Regions from separate parts of the Homo sapiens genome. Here region 1 is linked to region 2. The links are contacts of gene promoters, found by promoter capture Hi-C in blood cells and fetal thymus (Javierre and others, 2016). All regions are on one chromosome and are shown on one strand. Each heading gives the region's core, a stretch centred on a gene start or on the middle of the fragment in contact. The rest is flanking DNA. Distances are from core to core; before and after follow the strand shown.

Region 1 (3,294 bases), core at 337-2,836, 270 kb after region 2:
GTTTGTATTTTTAGTAGAGAAGGGATTTCCCCATGTTGGTCAGGCTAGCTTTGAACTCCTGACCTCAGGTGATCCACCTGCCTTGGCCTCCCAGAGTGCTGGGATTACAGGCGTGAGCCACCGTGCCTGGCCTTGCTGTTTTTAAATGCTTTTACCTTTCACGGCCTCAGCACACTAAAACTCATATCCACTGAGGTGACTCACTGTCAATCTGGTTTGACCTCTTGCCATCTTTGACCTCTAGATTGAGTGCCCCAGTTCTGGGCTTCTGTAGCATCGGATGGTGGGTGGGCGGAGGGGTGGGAAGAGTGATGAGTGGATGGAAGCACAAGGGGGTGGATAGGATGGGTCGGGGGTGGACAGGATGGGTCGGGGGTGGACAGGATAGATGGGGGTGGACAGGATGGGTGGGGGTGGACAGGATGGATGGGTGTATTACCGAAACGCCAGGGATTCAGTCTAGGTCCCATTGCTTACTGCACAGAAAGCTGATCTGGGATCCCGGGACAATGAGTATCGCCAGGAAAGAAGGCTTTATTCAGATGACATCTGCCAAGGAGACAGGAGATAAGTCTCAAATCCATCTCTCCAACAAACTCCAATTGGGGGTTTATATAGTGGGGAGCAAATGTAGCTGTGGGTGGGAAAACAGGAATTAGAGGGGGGTAAAGAAAAGGAGTTTCAGTTCCTTGATGCTATCTGGGAGGCCTGAGGGTCAGTTTCCTGGGGAAGGAACTCAGATAAGGCAAATTTAAGTTTCAAGCTTTAAGACCAGGAATGTCAATTTCTGTGTTTATCCAAAAAAAAAAAAAAAAAAAAAAAAATCTATGGGACAATTTGGCCAGTTTCCGGTGGGCAGGACAGCAGGTGGAAGGGGCGAGGGGCGCGGGTGGGTGGGTGAGGAGGAGGACAGGCATCAGGTGAGCGGATGGATGGGGTTGGTGGGTAACCCAGACAGTATTTGGGAGGGGATGGGTGGCTGGGAGTGAATGTGAGTAGCTGGTGAATCTGGAGTACACGGGGCTTTGAAAAGTCACAGGGGTACCCTGGGCAGTTGGATGGGGGTCTGATGAGGGGATGAGGCTGGAAAAGTGGGTGGAGAAAAAACTGCTGCCAATGCCTCCTCGCGTTGATTCTTGAGCAGATGCTATGCTGCGTATTCATAGCCTCCTTGGCTATTGCCTTCGGAATCCGGAAAGGGAGCTGGAATTAGAGACGAACGGAGGGCCGCGTGGTTGCAGTGCCCTCTGGTGGCCATCAGGGGTGGCCATCAGGACAATTGGTGTCTACATATTTTCCTTAAGTATTTTTTCATTGTCTATTCTTCCCCGCCCCCACCCCAACCCCAACATACAGACTCCCTGAGGACAGAGATTTTTATCTGTTTACTCGTTGTATGTTCATTGTCTAGAATAGTGCCTGGCACACAGTAGATGCTCAGTTAAATATTGAATGAGTGAATGACACAATTCAAACTGCTCCACCACTTTATATATTTATTTATTTATTTATTTTTGTTTGAGACAGGGCCTCTGTCACCCAGGCTGGAGTGCAGTGGTGCAGTCACAGCTCACTGCAGCCTCAACTGCCCAGGCTTAAGCGATCCTCTCACCCCAGTCTCCTGAGTAGCTGGGACTACAGGTGTGCACCACCACAGCTGGATAATTTTTTAAAAATAGAAATTGAGTCTCACTATGTTGCCCAGGCTGGTCTTGAACTCCTGGGCTCAAGTGATCCTCCTGCCTCAGCCTCCCAAAGTGCTGAGATTACAGGTGTGAGCCACCATGACTGGCCTCCACCACTTTATTGATGAGTGACCCTAAGCAGCTCTCTTAACTTTATAAAGCCTCAGTCTCCTCTTCGGTAAGTGGAGAGGCTAACGCCCGCCCCCACGAGCATTAACTGAGGGAAGGGGACCTGCACACCCTGGATGAAGGTGCTCCCTGCTAGCTCCCGTCTCATGCAGTAGCCAGCATTGCTGGCACATCCCGTACTCACAACAGCATATCATTTTCATTAAACAAACTGCTATGATGGGCACATTTGCCATTGTCTGTGGGGCATCCTGGGGAAATGATCCCAGCTTGGTCCTAGGCTGGCCAGGCAAAGAGGAAGTGTAGCCAGATGGACAAGGGACTGGGAGGTGATGCATAAGAGTCCTTGCCTGCCACGCATGCCCCATTTCCCCACCCCCTCAGTCACACCCAACTCTTCCAACTGCCTTGAGCCATCGAACTCCCTCTGCCTTCTGAAGCTCTGAAGACACTGTATCACTTCTCTCCAAACCCCATGGCCATGACCCACACTCAAGTCCTCTTCCACAGCTCCTCCTGGCCTCCCTGCAGCTGCTCTAGCCCCCTCAAATGCATCCTTCTGCAACGGACTGGATTGAAGCTGCGAATAAGCTTATCTGATTTTCCAGCTTGATTTCCAGCTCACTCATGAGACAGAGTCCAAATCCTCCGATCTACCATTTTGTGGTCTGGACCCAGCCCATCTCCTAGCCACCTCCTGATCACAGCTTCAAATCTTACAGCAAACAATCCAAGCCACCTCTGCCCATGCATCTCCCCTGCCTGGAAATCCATTTCCCTGCAAGGAGGGCGTGTGTTGCCCTAGAGTGCCCAGGATCCATTTCCTGTTCCCCCAGTAATGGAGTGCCCGCCCCAGCTCTCAGAGCTGGAGGATACTGGAGGGCTAACCCATTTCTGGGTTTAGGGGGAGCTTAAGACTCAGGCAGGCAGGTTCCTTTCGCTTTTTTAATGGAACGCTGTGGCTGCAACGAGCATTTTCCAGTTGGCCACAGCGCACCCCCACTTTGTCTTATTCCAGTTCCACCCATTTATTTTATCCGAATAGGTCCTGGAGGCACCGAGTTTGCAGCTCCTGGTACCCTCTCCTCACTTCTGCTCTGTCAGGCCCCAATGCCTGCCCAGATCCCAGATCCCAGTTCCCAGATCACCCCGGGGCTCAACTTTCCTCCCTTGATGCCCAGTGGAACCCCTGGTCCCATGGGGCTTCAGTTTCCCCAGTTCAGGCATAAGAAGCTGGGGTTCATCTGAGCGTGTCCATGTTCCCCCTGGAGGAAGGACGGGAGCAGGCAGGGTGGAGCTGGGATTAGAGGGGACAGGGCAGCTGCAGGTGGCACCTCTGGGCTGTGTCCTCTTGTAGCAGGACGAGCCACAGACAAAACTCCTCAGGCACCGGATTAAAGAAGGAAGAGGTTTATTTGGCCAGGAGCATTGGCAGACTTGCATCTTAATAGCTGAGATCCCTGAAAAAGAAATTCTTGGC
Region 2 (3,397 bases), core at 164-2,663:
GGATGTCACATGAGAGAATGGCTGTCAAAGCACTTTGTAAAAGACAGATCGTTTGACAAATGGATGAGATTATTGACACCATCACAGCAAGAGGTTGGAAGGTAACTGCAGCTGGGGGAAAACATTGCCAGGCACCTCCAAGCACACACACACACGCATACACACAAACACATATACACACACTTCCTTGCAAGGACAAGAAATCCAACCAGACCAGGCCTGAAAAGCAGATAAGCAGACCCACCATGGGAATCAGAGGCATGGGAATCAAAACCACAGAATAGCCAGGAGAACGGGACATATCAGGGAGGAGAGGTGGCTGTGAGGGGCAAAGTGAAGGAGAGAAGACTGAAGTGCAAATCCATCTGATTAGCTGAAGCACCCTAGGGTGTGAACGCCGGTGACATCAGAGACCCTGTCACCTGAGGTCCCCCACCAACCAGACACAATGAAGGGAAGAGGAAGGGGAAGGGGGTGGCAACAGAAGGCAAGGCTAGCCAGAGGCTGACCACTCGCTCAGCTGGGCTTCCCCATCCTGAGAGGGCCTACCCAAGTCCAGCTTCTCAGAAAGGCGCACCCTTTCTTCTCAGAACTAGACACAGGGACCCGCGCCCCTGCACCCCGTGTCTCACCTGGTAGGGGTCACTATGGTGCCCCAGCGCCTCCGCTTCCGCCTGGGGTCCTCCAGCGGCTCTGCCAAGCAGGGAGAGGGGCAAGGAGACCTTTCCCCTTGCCACCTCTTCCTCGGCTTTCGCCCTTCCTGAGGGGCGGGCCCGGGAAGCCTCCCCTGGAGGGGAGGGGGTGACAACCTAATCTGACCTCGCGGTCCAGTCCTCCCCCTCGTCGAGGGCGACAGCTGCCGAATTCCGGATTTCTGATTGTGGGGTCTGAACCCCGAATATCTGAACGGGATGGAGACTGAATCCGATATTTGAACGCCCGGGGAATGAACCCCGGATACTGGTGCACGCAGGGGCCTGAACCTGATATTTGAAATTCTATGAAACAGAGACCCAGGTTTAGAGAGGTTGGGACCCGAGTCCCGGATATCTGGACTATGAGGACTGTTACCCGGGTATCTGAGAAAGGAGGAGGGGCAAAGCCTGGAAATTTGGGACCCAGGGGCCTGAGCTGTAGGTCTTCGGCCACCGACTGGGGGCCCACCCCGAGGACGTCCGGCCGCACGGCCCCTCTCACGCCGGGGTCCGAGGGTGACAGCCCCCACTCCCGCCCCGGCCTCCTCCCTCTCCCTTCTCTCTTCCGAGAATAGCTGAACGATTGTAGCTAAGGTGCTGCTGACGGTCCCCGCGCCCTCTCTGCCTCTCCTCTTCTCCGTCTCAGCCTCTCTCCGCACCACAGCCCCGGTCTCGTCCCGGTCTCCCTCTCCCTCTTCCTCCCAATTCCAAGATGGAGACCGGGCGGGAGCGCGCAGGCGCGGTAGGGACGCCGGGCTAAAGGGGGCGGGGGCGCAGAGGACTCAGCCCCGCCCTCTCTCCTCACTGCCGCGGCCTGGGAGACCGGCAGCCGCCAAGCCCGAGTGCGCGCCCGCCCCGCCACGCGGACCCCAGGCCGGAGGAGGCGGGGAGAAGAGCTAGACTTGCAAGGGGAGGAGCCCGGCACTCTGTCCCACGACTGGCGGTGGACAGAGCTGCAGCGCATGCGCTCGCCCCGCCTTCGCTCTGAGCCCGAGCTTGTTGCTAGGGGAAGCTTTGAGGGGGCGCGGGTGGACGGACAGCAGCGGCGATCTGCGACTGCGCGCAGGGTGGAAGTTGGGAGGGGCAAAGGAAGCTGCTGCTGGGCGCGGAAAAGGCGGGAAAATAGACTGCTCCGAGGTTAGCAACCATCTAACCTGGAAAAGGGCCTCCAAGTGCGAGGAATCTTTGCGCGTCGACGCTGGGAAAACTCAATCGGTCAAATCTCTTACGGAAATTGAGGCGCTGCAGGTTGCAAGACTTGCCAAGGTCACAGTGCATTTATGTCACAGCATTTCCATGACCTGACACCCCACCCGCCCAACTAACTGTAATTATCCATTTTATTTCGTAGAAGAAAACAAGACAGGTGTTTACCAAAGCCAAGTCAACCATGGGGAGAGCTCAAGTAACCTATGCCCTATGCCAACCTGTGTCCAAACTAGAGAGTCAACAGGAAAGAGTCCCCCAAAACTTCTAAGCCTGCCTACCCTAAAATCCCCACCTCAATCCAACCCCCAATAAACACCATACACGCCACTGGGCAAAAAAGCTTTTTATTTTCCCCCACATTCCAGCTCTTCACTTTTTCTAAAACCTTTTCCAACTCAGAGCCAAGGCCCAAGAAGTTGATTCACACCTGGGGAGAAAGAAAATAAAACAACAAAACAGGTCGAAGAGCTGCTAGAGGAAGCTCTGAGATGTGTGCAGAAATTGAGGAAGGAGCAGAGGGAGTGACAGCTAGAGACCAATACGGGCATTTAATCCCAACTAAGGTAGCCTCAGGACCCCAGGGTCTGTCAGGGGCCAGGAAGCCCTCCTTTCCCAGTCCAAGGTTGAGAGGGTCCTGTCATTTCCTGTCCCAAGTAGGTGGTTGGGGCATTTAGGCCCAGCCATCAGCAAAATAAGCACAGTTGATCTTGAGCTTCCACTTCCTCTGGCCTGATCAGTTCCCTGGGCCTCAACTATTTCCACTTTTCCCATAGTAACTTCCTAGGGCACTGCAGCCAGCTGAAGCTGAGACCAGTTCAAGAGCTGGATGCATAACACATGGCTCTCAAATTTCATGCACCCCCCTCTGACAAGTGAAGATTTTTTGCAGAAATATTTTTTCCTTTAGTGAGCTGATGTGTGAACTGGTTAACCAACATGACCCCCACCCACTGCTACGTTTGTGAAGCTGATTCCCTCCAAAGATCTTGTTAACGGAATCAGCTTTTTCTAAAGGTAACGATGACTAAATGGAAGACAGAAGGTGCATGTCAAGTTCTTGGGCACATACTATGTCCCCAGTAAATGAGTATCATCAGTTAGACTCTTCTGAGCGGTTCAAGTTGAATTTTACAAAATTTCCATCATAAAACTGGGTATTGGAATTTCAGGACAAAAGCAAGACAAACATGGTTCATATTCAGGACAAATCATCAAATGTGAACCCTCTTAACTCACCATTGTTACCCAAATGCTTGGATGTGAACTAGTTATGAGTCTTAAAATCACAATGTTGCTTGAAAGAAGTCAGCCACAAAAGAATGTGTATGATTCTGTCTACATAGTTTCAAAAATAAGTAAAACCAAACTATATTATTTAGGAATACATACATGGCAATACATTATAAAGCAGGACAGTAATTTCTAGGGAGAGAGAGGGCATTGTCAGGAAGGAAGGGACCATGGGGGGTTTCTGGACAGCTGGTAATATTCTA

What was found. Contacts are between HindIII fragments. The CHiCAGO score rates a contact against its expected background, and 5 or more counts as called.
Region 1: a fragment that was not itself captured here is called in contact with the fragment with the promoter of TAOK2 in region 2 in 13 of 17 cell types (total CD8 T cells, activated CD4 T cells, M0 macrophages and 10 more); the score reaches 13.2 in total CD8 T cells.

What each region holds. Positions count from the first base shown.
Region 1 is chr16:29,698,614-29,701,907 of GRCh38, reverse strand. It overlaps QPRT (quinolinate phosphoribosyltransferase), which reads right to left. Exons shown (of 4, transcript NM_014298.6): 4 at 3,209-3,294. Among named protein-coding and RNA genes, the nearest start is that of QPRT, 21 kb to the right of the region's middle. RefSeq lists a cis regulatory region at 908-1,510 and a silencer at 2,281-2,455. The HindIII fragment of the contact is 1,642 bases long and covers 766-2,407 here.
Region 2 is chr16:29,971,884-29,975,280 of GRCh38, reverse strand. TAOK2 (TAO kinase 2) reads right to left here and starts at 1,413. Exons shown (of 16, transcript NM_016151.4): 1 at 633-1,413. It overlaps TMEM219 (transmembrane protein 219), which reads right to left. Exons shown (of 6, transcript NM_001083613.2): 6 at 2,233-2,331. LOC124903762 reads right to left here and starts at 1,659. Exons shown (of 2, transcript XM_047435036.1): 1 at 1,501-1,659; 2 at 646-1,284. The coding sequence starts at 1,659. The coding sequence ends at 646. RefSeq lists enhancers at 323-452, 159-930 and a silencer at 1,354-1,723. The HindIII fragment of the contact is 1,984 bases long and covers 1-1,709 here.